Linked DNA regions of Homo sapiens: region 1 is linked to region 2. The links are contacts of gene promoters, found by promoter capture Hi-C in blood cells and fetal thymus (Javierre and others, 2016). All regions are on one chromosome and are shown on one strand. Each heading gives the region's core, a stretch centred on a gene start or on the middle of the fragment in contact. The rest is flanking DNA. Distances are from core to core; before and after follow the strand shown. Region 1 holds the start of MIR5689 (microRNA 5689). Region 2 holds the start of BMP6 (bone morphogenetic protein 6).

Evidence for each region. The method cuts DNA at HindIII sites, captures the fragments that hold promoters and counts their contacts. A CHiCAGO score of 5 or more calls a contact.
Region 1: a contact is called between a fragment that was not itself captured here and the fragment with the promoter of BMP6 in region 2, in 3 of 17 cell types (M2 macrophages, total B cells and total CD8 T cells). The highest score is 7.5, in M2 macrophages.

Annotation. Positions count from the first base shown.
Region 1 is chr6:10,435,877-10,443,293 of GRCh38, reverse strand. The region is part of intron 1 of MIR5689HG (MIR5689 host gene); the gene reads right to left. MIR5689 (microRNA 5689) reads right to left here and starts at 3,577; the gene lies at 3,500-3,577. RefSeq lists enhancers at 1,558-2,058, 2,059-2,559. The HindIII fragment of the contact is 344 bases long and covers 4,201-4,544 here.
Region 2 is chr6:7,724,558-7,731,835 of GRCh38, reverse strand. BMP6 (bone morphogenetic protein 6) reads right to left here and starts at 5,737. Exons shown (of 7, transcript NM_001718.6): 1 at 4,217-5,737. The coding sequence starts at 4,880. The HindIII fragment of the contact is 3,909 bases long and covers 2,104-6,012 here.

The sequences.
Region 1 (7,417 bases), core at 3,123-5,622, 2.7 Mb before region 2:
TTCACCATGTTGGCCAGGCTGGTCTCGAACTCTTGACCCCAGGTGATCCACCCACCTCGGCCTCCCAATGTGCTGGGATTACAGGTGTGAGCCACCGCGCCCAGCCGGTTCCTCCCTTTTTTATTGTGTAGTATTTCATTGTCTGAATTTACCACAGTTAGTTTATTCATTCTCCTATTGGTTGTTTTCAGCTTTCAGTTATTTATGAATAAAGCTATGGACATTTTTGAACAAGCCTCTTTGAGGACATATGCTTTTATTTCTCCCGGGTGAGTAACCTAGGTGTGGAATTGCCAGGTCATAATGTAGGTGCAGTCAGCCTTCCCTATCCGTGGGTTCCACATTCATGGACTCAGCAAATATTCATGAATTCAATAAAAAATCAAGGGGTGGGAGGAAAGGATGATCATGTCTGTATGGAATATGTATAGACTTTTTTCTTGTTATTATTTCCTAAACTGTATACAGTATAATTATGCTCACTATCTGAGTGATGGGATCAATTGAACTCCAAACCTCAGCATCATGCAATACACTTATATAACAAACCTGCATATGTACCACCTGAATCTAAAATGAAAGTGGAAATTATTTTTTTAAATACAGTATAACAACTGTTTACATAGTCTTCACCTTGTACTAGGTATTATAAGTAATCTAGAGATGATTTAAAGTATACAGGAGGATGTGTGTGGGTTATATGCAAGTACTACCCTGCTTTATATCAGATTCCTGAGCATCTGTGATTTTGGTACTTGCAGGGAGACCTGGAACCAGTCCCCTGCAGATACTGATGGACAACTGTATATGTTTAGTTTTAAAAGAAATTGTGGGCTGGGCATGGTGGCTCACGTCTGTAATCCTAGCACTTTGGGAAGCCGAGGTGGGCGGATCACTTGAGGTCAGGAGTTTGAAACCAGCCTGGCCAACATGGTGAAACCCTGTCTCTACTAAAAATACCAAAAAATTAGCCGGGAGTAGTGGCAGGCGCCTGTAATCCAAGCTACTCAGGAGGCTGAGGCAGGAGAATTGCTTGAACCTGGGAGGCAGAGATTGCAGCGAGCCAAGATCACGCTACTACACTCCAGCCTGGGGGACAAGAGTGAGACTCTGTCTCACAAAAAAAAAAAAAAAGTAAATTGCAAAATCCTTTTCAAGATGTATTTTTAAATCGATAAAACACTAACTTAGTATACATTTAGATTAAGAAAAACATTACTATATAGGTTGACCAATGTGATATGGTTTGGCTCCGTGTGGCCACACAAATCTCATGCAAATTGTAATTCCTAATGTTGGGGGAGGGACCTGGTGGGAGGTGATTGGCTCATGGGGGAGAATTTCCCCCTTGCTGTCCTCATGATAGTGAGTGAGTTCTCATGAGATCTGGTGGCTTAAAAGTGTGTAGCGCTTCCCCCTTTGCTCTCTCTCCTGTTGCCATGTGAAGATGTGCTTGCTTCCCCTTTGCCCCATGCCGTGACTGCAAGTGTCCTGAGGCCTCCTCAGCTGTGCTTCCTGTACAGTCTACGGAACTGAGTCAATTAAACTTCTCTTCATATATTACCCAGTCTCAGGTATTTTTTTTTTATAGCACTGTGAGAACAGACTAATACATAATGCTAAATGTCTCAACATTCTCTACTCTTTGGGTGAATATTTGCTTACGTAAGCTGTGGAGAGAAGAAAATTAACAAAGCTAGGGAAAGCTCTCTGGGCCACCATCCACTACTAGTGTTGCCTTAATTATTAATCCTACATCATTTTAGAGTTTGTACTTCAATGGCAATGCGTATTCCTCCAGGAATGGAATGCAGTTTCATCAGAACTTTCTCCTGACACGCCTTGTGGCTCTGAGTCACAGACGTTTTTCTTAAAGGGAGTGTCTTTCATCTCAGGGCCTCAAGCTGCCCGTCATTCCCCCATAGTCCAGAGATCCCCCTCCCCTGTGATCACATTCCAGCTTGCACCCTGTCTCCTCACTCCCTTTCCTTCTATTTCCTGCAGCCACTGCTGAACTACCGCATGCCAGCTCTCTGGCTTTCTAGGGTTTGCCATTTCACAAGGCTTAGCCTCAGATTTTATAAGGTTTATTGGTAAATTGCAGAATGAGAGGTTTTATCTTGTGTTACAGGAATTTCAGGCAGAAGCAAGCAGATGGCGTAACAGGCCAGTCCAAGCACAACACAATCCACAGGCCAGGGCTCAAAGCTCATGTTACCTGCCTCTACCAGGCACTGAGCTGACACCCTGGGCACACCTCTCAATCTCCCAGTCTTCCTCTTGCAGGAAAGAAAAGTTAAGCATTCCAGCAAAAGAAACTACCATCAGAGTGAACAAGCAACCTACGAAATGGGAGAAAATTTTTGCAACCTACTCATCTGACAAAGGGCTAATATCCAGAATCTACAATGAACTCAAACAAATTTACAAGAAAAAAATAAACAACCCCATCAAAAAGTGGGCGAAGGATATGAACAGACACTTCTCAAAAGAAGACATTTATGCAGCCAAAAAACACATGAAAAAATGCTCATCATCACTGGCCATCAGAGAAATGCAAATCAAAACCACAATGAGATACCATCTCACACCAGTTAGAATGGTGATCATTAAAAAGTCAGGAAACAACAGGTGCTGGAGAGGATGTGGAGAAATAGGAACACTTTTACACTGTTGGTGGGACCGTAAACTAGTTCAACCATTGTGGAAGTCAGTGTGGCGATTCCTCAGGGATCTAGAACTACAAATACCATTTGACCCAGCCATCCCATTACTGGGTATATACCCAAAGGATTATAAATCATGCTGCTATAAAGACACATGCACACGTAGGTTTATTGCGGCACTATTCACAATAGCAAAGACTTGGAACCAACCCAAATGTCCAACAATGATAGACTGGATTAAGAAAATGTGGCACATATACACCATGGAATACTATGCAGCCATAAAAAATGATGAGTTCATGTCCTTTGTAGGGACATGGATGAAACTGGAAACCATCATCCTCAGCAAACTATCACAAGGACAAAAAACCAAACACCGCATGTTCTCACTCATAGGTGGGAATTGAACAATGAGAACACATGGACACAGGAAGGGGAACATCACACTCCGGGGACTGTTGTGGGGTGGGGGGAGGGGGGAGGGATAGCATTTGGAGATATACCTAATGCTAAATGACGAGTTAATGGGTGCAGCACACCAACATGGCACATGTATACATATGTAACAAACCTGCACATTGCGCACATGTACCCTAAAACTTAAAGTATAATAATAATAAAATAAAAAACAAAATAAATAAATAAATAAACATCTAAAAAAAAGAAAAGTTAAGCATTCCAAAGTGTTCAGCTGATTTGAGCATTTTGTCCAGGACATCTGATTCCAATGTTTGAATGTGTGTGTGTGTGTGTGTGTGTGTGTATGTGTGTATATACATTTAGAGAGGGGGTCTCCCTGTGTTGTCCAGGCTGGCCTTGAACTCCTGAGTTCAAGCGTGGTAGCACACACCTGTAGTCCTAGATACTCACCCTCCTGAGTATCTAGGACTACAGGTGTATGCTACCACGCTGGAATTAAATGTGTATTTTGCATTTGTAAATTTATTGACATAAGTGACAGAGTCCAGGCATATAATAAAACTGGTGACTCTGAAGAACAAATATTTCATTTTCTTCCATTTTCTCTCGGTTCTTGCAAACTTTCCTGAAATCTTGTCTCAGCTGAGAAACATGTTCTCACCATATAGTCATGTGAAGGGTGAAACTCATCTTCCCAGTGGTCATAATGAACACAGCTCATATTGTCCAGGTCTTTTCTTCCACTAGAGGGATTTTAACTGCCCTCCACTTTATTCTCCCAATAAACTTTTAGTTAAAAAGCTTAAATGTGGCCAGGTAATGTGGCTCATGCCTGTAATCCTAGTACTTTGGGAGGCCGAGGAGGGTGGATTACCTGAGGTCAGGAGTTCGAGACCAGCCTGGCCAACACGTCGAAATCCTGACTCTACTAAAAATACAAAAATTAGCCATGCATGGTGGTGCACGCCTTTAATCCCAGCTACTCGGGAGGCTGAGGCAGAAGAATCGCTTGAACCTGGGAGGTGGAGGTTGCAGTGAGCCAAGATCACGCCATTGCACTCCAGCCTGAGAGACAGAACAAGACTCCATCTCAAAAAAAAAAAAAAAAAAAGCTTAAATGTTCTCACCACACACACATAGAAATGGTAACTGTGTGAGGTGATGGATGTGTGAATTTGAATTAGCTTGATTATGGTATCTCACCTCACAAGATAGACATATATCAAAACATTGCATTGTACACATTTTAGTTGTATATATATAGTTGCATATACATATCTATACATATCTTTTAGTTGTATATATTCAAGCTACAGGGGAGGGAAACTTTTAGCCACAAAGCAGATCCAGTTGGAAAATCTTAACATCAAATGCTAGTTTTTGCATGTAATTTTTTTCTTTAAAAAATACATGGCCATAATATAAAATTCAAAAGGCAAAATGGTAAGTTGCAAAGCTTGTCTCTCTTCCTTTCCCCTAGTCATCAGATCTTCCCAAAGACACCTATACATACTGTTACTAGGTACTTGTGTATTTCTAGACATCCCAAACTTTTCTTAACATATACAGATTATATATTCTCCTCATCACATAAATGTTAGCATACTATGAAAGAGACAGCAAGTCGCCTGTCTCAACATCCATTCTCCCACTTTCTTTCTTTGTTGATATGGGGTTTTGCTCTGCCACCCAGGCTGGAGTGCAGTGGCATGAACAAAGGCTCAGCACAGCCTTGACCTCTTGCCTCAGCCTCCTGAGTAGCTGGGACTACAGGCACGCACCATCTGGCTAATTTTTAAATTTTTGTAGAGACAGAGTTTCACCATGTTGCCCAGACTGGTCTCAAACTCCTGGGCCTAAGGGATCCTTTCACCTTGGCCTCTCAAAGTGATGGGATTACAGGAGTGAGCCACTGGCGTCTGATCTCCTCACTCTTTTTATAACAGCCGTCCAAATGTATTTGAAGCCACTCATTGCTGTCCAGCAAAAAACTGCATTTCTCAGCCTTTCTGTTAGCTAATAATGCAGGCTATGTAACTAAGTTTTCGATACTGGAGTGGAAGATACTAGAATGTAACATTTGTCAGATCTTTTGCCTTTCTGCTGGCTGGGATGTGGACGTGATGACTGGAGCTTAAGCAGCTTTCTTGGACTGTAAAACAGCCCACTTGGGATGGCAGAGCAACAAGATGGAGGAAATTAGGTCCTGAGAATGATGGAGTTCCCTTATAAGCCATGGCCCTGTCCATATCTGTTTTGTTGTTGTTGTTTTTTAGCAGTTGAAACAGCTTAAACACCATAACAAGCTCACTGTTACTTGCAGCAAAATACAATTCCTTTTTTAAACATACGTAATTTTTATTTGTCAGTTATACCTTAATGAAAAATGTAATAGTCAAAACAAATGATATATTTGGAAATTTTTAAATATACACTTATAAGTAAAGCCATGGATCAAAAAATAAGTCACACTGAAAACTAGAAAACATTTTGAATTGACAATTGTGAAAATGCCACATGCCAAATATTGTGGCATTTCACAAAATCTACTTTGAGTGAAATGTATAGCGCAAAAGCCTATAAATGCTGACATTTAAGAAGTGGGAAAACATTTTTTTTAATTAGCTAGTCATCCAAATTAGAATTAGAAAACAACAGCAAAATAAATTCAAAGATCAAAAATGAAAAATTAATGTAAGAGCAGAAGTAAATAAATACAACTAAAATTTATAATATAGAGCATTACAAAGACAAGCAGTTCTTTAAAAAGCCTAACACAATTGAAAAACCTGTAAGCAAGAGTGAAAAAGTGAAAAAAGAAAGGACACAAATAAACTATATTAAGAATGTAAGGGGGCTCGGCCCAGTGGCTCATGCCTGTAATCCCAGCATTTTGGGAGGCCAAGGCAGGAAGATCACTGGAGGTCAGGAGCTTGAGGCCAGCCTGGCCAACATGGTGAAAACCCATCTCTACTAAAATTATAAAAAAAATTAGCTGGGCGTGGTGGCATATGCCTACAGTCCTAGCTACTCGGGAAGCTGAGGCAGGAGAATGGCTTGAACCTGGGAGGCGGAGGTTGCAGTGAGCCACGATCAAGCCACTGCACTCCAGCCTGGGCCACAGAGGGAGACTCTGCTTCAAAAAACAACAAAGACAACAACAACAAAACAACAACAACAAAGAATGTAAGAGGGGCCAGGCGGGCTGGCTCACACCTGTAGTTCCAACGCTTTGGGAGGCTGAGGCAGAAGGATCACTTGAGCCCAGGAGTTTGAAACTGGTCTAGGCAACATAGTGAGACACTGTCTCTCCAAAAAAAAAAAAAGTAAGAGGGGACATAAATGTAGAAGCTGTAGACATGAAAGAGATAATAAAATTTTTCTATTTACAGGCAGTTTTATAAAAATGAATTACAAAATATAGATGAGATATGTTCTATTAAACATATAAGGTATGGTATACTACAGTAAAACACAATTCTTAACACATGTGTATACCATACCTAGTGCACTACACCTTGCTTTCTTCCTTAACAATATGTCTTGGAAATGAATCTGTAGAGTACATAGAGAACTGCCTCATTCCTTGTAATGACTGAATGTTATTCCTTTATACGACTGACCCATCATTTATTTAAATGTGTCTTATTGATAGCATTTAGACTGTTTCCAGTCTTTGCTATTATTAAAAAAGTCACGATATATAAACCCATCATTTCGCACACTTGCAACTCCATCTGTAGGATAAATTCCAACAAGTGGAGTCGCTAGGTTCAAAGGTGTGCTCATATTTATTTGGATCGATTTCACAAAGAAGCTATACCATATTACACTACTCCCATCAAAGTATAAGAATGCCTACTGCGGCCGGGCGCGGTGGCTCATGCCTGTAATCCCAGCACTTTGGGAGGCCGAGGCGGGCGGATCACGAGGTCAGGAGATGGAAACCATCCTGGCTAACACAGTGAAACCCTGTCTCTACTAAAAATACAAAAAAATTAGCCGGGCGCGGTGGCGAGTGGGCGACGGAGCGAGATTCCGTCTCAAAAAAAAAAAAAGAATGCCTATGGAGTCTCCTAAGAACAGCATCATCAAGGCCACCACATTCCAATATCTGTTGCACTTCTCTCATAAAGCTGAGCACCTTTTTCTTGCTGCATAGCCTTGTAACCAACTCTATTATAATAGAACTTGTTCCTCATCATCAGCAAGTGAGCATTTGCTAGCTTCAGATCTGAAACTTTCATTTTCCACTAGTAGGCTTCCGAAAGCAACCCTCTTGGTTCACGGATTAGGTGAGCCAGAACGCCAAATAACTTATAATTGAGAAA
Region 2 (7,278 bases), core at 4,488-6,987:
TCTCAAATGTAATGCATATTACAAATTAATATACATATGGGTGACTAATAAAAAAGGTGTATTAATAAAGCACGATGATTTACCTCAAATACTGTGAACCTCCCTGTCCTAAATGTCTTCACTGTAAACATTTTACTCAATAAAAATCAGGTATACCCTTTCTAAATAATCAAATCTTCCAAATCAGTGAAATATGAATTTGAAGCATGGGCTATGTCTATATGTTCACTAATTCAGCCTTTTCAAAGCATCTTCCATGTGGTCAGCATTATGTTAGGCACTTGGGCTACTGTGGTGGGTTAGCGTGGTTTCCGCCTTTGGAGGCTGACATCCTACAGGGGAGACAAACAAATGAGTAAGCAAATTTAACAAGAAAAAAGAAAAACTTGTGATAAGTACAAGGAAGGAAATAAGCAGAGTGCTGTCATGGTACAGAAGTGGGTGGGATGGAGGCATGACCAGTTTATATAGAGTGGCAGAGAAGGTCTCTCTTAGGTGAATTTTAAGCTAAGACCTGAAGGATACCTCTCCAAGGTCACCAAATTGGCAGGGATGCTGACTAGGCTGCCAAGACATTTTTAGCATTAGAAAACAAATAGAAAATGGCATCTGTGGCCCTGAGTGAATGCAAGTTCACGAGCTCGCTCACCCAGGCACTCTGCACACCAGCAGCCCAGGCAGCAGACGGTTAGCATTTAGAAGGTGACACATCCCAGCCTATTCACCCAGAAAGAGTTTGAAACAGTCAACATAAACAACAATGAGCTGGTTGGATGACCAGCACTTGCGCTATGAGAGAGAAATTTATCCTGTTGATTCACACTTCCTGATAGTCCGGCTGGCTTACAAGGCTCGGGGTGTTTCAAATGTATTTCATGAGTAAATTATTCCCCCAGTCCCAGGGAAGTCGGATGTTTACAACTATGTAATACTTTCCCTTGTACTTCCAGTGTGTAATTTACTTAACCTAGTAGGTATAAGCGTACTTTAAAACGCAGCGCTGTCATGTTTATCTTTCTGTAGATTCTTTAATAGATGAGTCAGGTAATGTGGCAGTTAACATGGCATTGACAGCAATTAGGAAATCTGTAATTCTCTAGTATCCCTATATAGAGAATCCAACATTGGTACGCAATAACTTTGTTCAAATGAACTGTCCTTCCTATGTTCAGAGTCATGGCAATCAGATTTTACCCCATTCTAGCCTCTGATGATGAAATACCCCTTTCCTATTGCTACATGGATTAAGATGAAATAGAATTGCTTCATTGGCAGGTGGCATGGCTTGCTGCTTGGATTCTACTTACCCGCAAAAGGTTTTCTCTTCACACTATCAGTATAGAGTCCAGAAGTGGACCTACAGTAGCTATAACTTGTACAAGGAGCCCAGTGATAGGAATATGAGGGGCTTGGGATAGAATTCCCATCCTAGAATTCTCTTTCAGTTCTGTGTCAGCCTGTCTTGGGGCCTGGAATTGCACTACTGGGTGAGTTCTCTTAAAAATTTTTAGGGGATTTTTTTAGATCTTTCAAAATCCTTTACGAAAAATGTCAATATCCCTAGGGAGATACTATGTTAAACCATCACCCTAGCAAGGATTAGCTGACAGCCAGCTTTAAGCAGTGTGACTCAGAGGCAGTGTGTCCCTGTAGCCCACGAAAAGTCAGAGAAGCAAGGAATAAGGGGAATTTGGAGGGTCACTAAATACAGTAAATATGACTATACTTTACAAATTCGCCTTAGGCCCAGCTCTTGAAATTTCAAATACCATCTAAGGCAGTGGTTTCCAAACACTGACATCACCTGAGATCTTGACAAAACAATGACACTGCTGGGCATGGTGGCACACTTCTATCTTCCCAGCAACTCAGGAGGCTGAGGCAGGGGGATTGCTTGAGGCCAGGAGTTTTGAGTCCAGCCTGGGCAACGTTGGGAGATCCTCTTTATTTTTGAACAAAAAAATACTGCTACCTGGTTTCCACCTCCACACATTCTGATTTGATATGGAGTGCCACCTGGGCATCTGGGTTTTTTTAAGGCGTTCCCCCCTACCTCCCACGTAACACCCACGTGATTCTAATGTGTAGCAATGTTTGAAAGCTTTGCTCTTCATCTCTTACTGGGACAATGTATCCATTTCCTTCAGACATTGGGATCTCCTGTGCCAGTGTTTCCTGACCACGGTAGCATATTAGAAAAACCTAAGGTACTTAAAAAAAATGATGCCTGTGCCCCACCCTCAAAAGATTCTGACCTAACTGATCTGGGCCCACGAAGCGGCCCTAATAACCCTAGAACTCTAAGTCCCCCGGGTGATACTACAGGGCAGCTAATGCTGAGAACCTCGGTTCAAGCCCAGGAATTGTTTTCCCAGGGACTGTAACACGATTCTCTGTGAAGTAGCCAGGAGCGCCAGTCTTCCTCCCCTTTGTCCAGGTTAGGACTACCCCCAAGAGGCAATAAAACATTTCCCCAGAGCTGCCAGGAAACCTGGAGGCGGGGTGGGGGCGGGGGGTGAGGGTGGAAGGAGAGGAGAGGAAGAGAGCAAGGGGAGGAATTTACTAAGTCAGAAGCAGCAGAAAAGTTAGAATAAGGAACAGCGCTGGTCCTCTGCCACCCTGGCCCCCACCCACTACAAATTTTATTGACTGGCATGAGAATTTCCTTAGAATGCTTCCTGGAGGTGGCTCAACCTTGGATTTGGTTCCAATAAATTGTGAAAATTCTTGTCCAATCAGAACCCCGGGCAGTGCAAGCAGCCAGATTGGCAGGCCCTGAGCCTGGACTCCTGTGAGATTCTGTTTCACGAATTTCCCAGGAGGATTTCTGCACCACTTGGATGCCAATCGCCCTGCCTCCACACCCTCCCTTGGCTCTTACCCCCCATGTTCTCTCCCTCAAAGCTCAGTGGAGTTGGGAATCATAGATAGGCTGGTAAAGAAATCACCCAGATAGTCTACGCGGGAATCATTCCAGTAAGTAATGCCGTTAAAAGATGAGCGTCTTTGACGTGGCTGGGAGACCCGTGTGCTCCTTTGGCGAGTGTCTGCTCACCCACTTCAGGGCCTGGGCACAACCACCGTCTCACATGGGAAGGAGGCCCGTGAAGCCCCACCCCGCCGCGCAGCTGCAACCATCCCGGGCGTAGCCAGTGCACCCATGATCTGTCCGCTGACAGCGCGTCCCTCCATCCTATGTCTGCGCTAAACTAAGTCAGCTTATGAATGAAAAGCAGTGCAAACCGGAGGCACTGACTCCGAAGAAAAGAGTCTTCTCTGCACCCTTCTCATTTACAGATGAGAAAACTCAGTGGGGTGGGAGGGGGGAGAAAGGGCGATGTGACTGGGTCCGGGTTTGCCACAGAACATTTGTGGCGGAGCTCCATTTAGCCGCCCGTGAATTTCCATTCTGTTGCCTGGCAACCGGTTCAGAGGAGCTCAGCGCCCAACCCCGGCCCCTACCCCGCACCCTTTCTCTGCCCGTGCAGCTTGGGCTGCATTGATCAAAGGTTCAGCCTTTGGGGACAATGGCCAAGGGCATGTGAGCCGGGGCACAGGATGGATTACCCCAGTTGAGCTTTCATCCCGCCCCAAACAGAAGCGAGCCCCGCCCGGCCGGGATCCGAGCGCCTTCCGCGGTCCTTTTGGGACTTCCCTCTGCAACCTCCCCTAGTGCCGTGGATACCTCTAAACATACTCATGCCAAGTTTTCAAAGTTCCCAGCCGCTGTCGGATTCCCTAAAAGTCTCGGTGGGAAAACTGCACTCCAAGTTAGGGGGCAAAAGGCGGCAGTTTAGAGGGGAAAATCGTACTGAAGAGCCCTCTTCCCAGGATGGCCACACTCGGGCTGGACTCTCCTGCTGCAGTTGAGTTAACCTGGCCAGAGCTGGGCAGAAGTGAAAAAAAGCGCGGAACGTGCTCAGGGAGTCCGCAAATACACGCCCGCTGGGGACAGCGCTCCCGGAGCCCCGCGGCCCGGCCGGCCAGCCGCCTCTGGGGGCCTCGGCGCGCAGCCCTGCCCGCGGCGCGGGGGAGCGCATGTGCCGCCCACCGCCGCGCAGGTGGCGGGAGCACAGCCTGCCTGTCCCCGCGTTCTCTGGCGCACCAGGCGGGACCCGCGCGCCGGGAGCTCCTCCACCCCCTCACTCCATCCCCTGGGCCCGGGACACTGAAAAGGGGGAAATGTTCTCGTCATTACGTTACCCCAAATCCTTACCCAGGTTCACAAAGCTCATGACCATGTCCGCGTCGTTGAGGAAGGCGCTGTCCTGCGCGCTGGTCAGTGGGGACGCGCCGCCGCTGCCAGATCCGGGGGCCAGAAGGCTCTTGCGGTTGAGCGGGTGCGCGGCGCCCGGGGGCGGCTGCCGACGCTGGGACGAGCTGGCTGCTTCGTGGGGCCAGGACTGCTGCCTCTCCCCCTCCGACGCCCCGTCCTCGTCGTTGTCGGCGGACAGGGCGTTGTACAGATCCAGCATGAAGAGGGGCGCGGACTTCAGTCGCCCGGGAGGGGGCTCTCCGCGAGGCAGCTGCTGCTGCTGCTGCTGCTCCTCCTGCTGCCGGAGCGCCGGGGGCTGCGGCTGTTGGAGGCCGTGCAGGGGCCGGGGCCGGTGCGGGAGCCCCAGCACCGACAAGATCTCCTTCTGCATCTCCCGCTTCTCCTGCGTCTTGAGCCGCCGGTACAGGAAGCCCGAGGAGGACTGCGGCGACGGCGGCGGCTGCTCCGTGCGGCCGGGGCTCCCGCCGTCCCCCAGCAGCTGCCCCCCGGCGGCGGCGGCCGCGGCAGCGGGCAAGGGCGGCCGCAGCGGCGGGGGCCCGCAGCAGCTGCACAGCAGCCCCCACCACCAGCACAGCCACTGCGCCCTCCGCCCCAGCCCCGGCATCCCCGCCCGGCCGGGCTGCCCCCGCGGATCCCGCGAGGCGTGGAGCGGCGGAGCGAGGCCGGAGCGCGGCCGCTGTGGCCCTTGGCGTGAGCAGTCCCCGCCACCTCTCGGCGGGCTCGCTTCCCCTTCCTGGCCCTCAGTCCTTATCTCTCATGGTCGTCCGGGGCGCCCCCAGTTGCCCAGGCTAGAGAGGTGGCGAAGGGGCGATCACCAGGAGAACCGCTTGGAGGGGAGGAAGGGGAGCCTCACAGCCTCGCGCAGGTCTCTAGAGGCGCGCGGTCCAGGCCAGGTGCGTCTGAGTCCGGGCTGCACTGCAGCCTGCGCCCTGGCTCCTGCGAGTCGCGGCGCGGTCACTCTGGGCCTCGCTGGCCGCACACGTGCGCTGCCCCGCGCTCTCCCTGGCGACTGAGTGGGACCCGGGGCAGCGGGGAGCGGGGCCGCTCACGAGCTGCGGGAGATGCCCGGCATCACCGTGGCGCACGCCCCTCCCCAGATCGCAGGGCCACCATGAAGTTTACCCCGTTGCAGGGCCCAGGCTGCGGCGACAAGGCGTCCCGAAATGCCAGTCTATTCCGCGAGGTTTAACTTCCTTCTCGCTCACGAACTCCGCGCCCCTGAGCTCTCGGGCACCGTCGCTCCCACTCAAAATCTCCGCGCGCCGCACGCCTCCTCAAGCGGAGGCGGCGAGGATCTTGCTTTCCGTTCGGCGGTCGCCCGGCTGCCCAGCAAACCCGCTCGCAGAAAGGATGGGAAGGAAGGGGGCTAGTGCACCGAGCAGCGGCCGCGGCGGCGGCGCCGGAATTCGGTCTCCCGCCTCTCCACGCCGCGCTCCCCGCAGCGGCCAACGTGGGCTTTCTGCTGCGCGCCCGGCTCAGGTACCTCACTCCAGCCCCGGGACTCCCCGCCCCGCGGTAACCGACAGGCTGGCAGCCAATGGGGACGCGAAGCTCGCGGGCTATTTAAATAGCCCCGCCCCTTCTTTCACCCTCCCTCTCCCGAGAGGCGTCGCCTCCGCCGCGCGTAGGTTTCAAGACCCGGGAATTCTTGGAGGCATGCGAAGAGCCGCGAGGTGCCAAAGGCGAAGAGGTCATCGCTAGTAAGAATGATCTGACCAATACCCCGATCTGAAGCTTTCTCTTTTACCATCATTTAAAAGGCCTAAGTTGATGCTTTAACTAAATAAAAATAATAACAGCGATTAAATCACTATACTGCCAGAACTGAGGAAGAAAAGAAAAATGATAGCTTTTCCATCCCTTCCTTAGTTTCTCTTATTGATGTAATGTAGGCGTTTAGCGGACACGTGGCTTTCCACGGCAGCTGCTGGAAGTTGGGACACACCCTCCGGGGAGGCTACTCACAAACTGACCACAGAGAGGGCCACATGTAACCCAAGCCAGCGTCCTGAGGGTTTGGGGTCGGATGTGTTGACTTCTCTGTTCATTTGTGCTTTGGTTTGGCTTCTTAAGCTAGCACCCAAAAGAAAGAGGGTGTAATCAGACGATATATTAGAAAAGGCGTCCCCTGTCTTCTTGGAAATGTCTTGATTCTCCAGCTTATCTATTAATGTTGCATTTTAATATTGAAATACAATGTGACTTATATGGTGCAAGATAAAACTTGAGGAGAGGTGATAAAGATAACTCCAGGAAGAGCAGGGGCTTGGCATGCATTCTGAATGGTCAGGACAATAGACAGGGTCCTGAAACACAGGTTCCTGTGGATTTTAGACAAGATAACACCACCACCAACACCATTTGCCAATGAGGACACAAATTCATTTGCCTTTACCCCGCCCGAGAACATCCAGTCATCTATGGATCGTAGAAGCAAATTCACGTAAAACATGAAGGTTTTTTACTTGGTGAAAATTGTGTGGAGTTGAAAATAAAAACTGCAATTTTCTGACTTGCCAGCCTTAGTCCAAATGGTCCTAGGCATTTGAGAGTGAAGTCAAATAGATTATAGACTGTGGGATTCATGAATTTATGAGATCATAGGCTTTCTGTTGGTCCAAATCTTATAAGCATTCCTATCCTATTTCCAAGAATCTATTTCTCATGGGTAAATAGAGACCACCACTGACTCCAACTACCCACTGAGTCCTTCTTTCTAGTTCTGCCTTGGCCCAGACACAAGTGGTCATTTAGAAGAGTCTTTATTTCTACAAATATCTGATAGCTATGAATTTCAGGGCACAAAACTTATGTGAATGCCAGTCTTTAACCATCTCTACAGGGATTTCTTCCATCCGAAAAGATAATACGATACTTTGTCTGGGATGCCCGGACCCTCAGAATTCAAGAGCCCTGTCACTTCTTTTTTCTGTAGGGAACATGTTAGGGACATAAATTCACTGCAGTGCCCCACAGCAGCCAAGAGCTCTGCTCAGAAGATC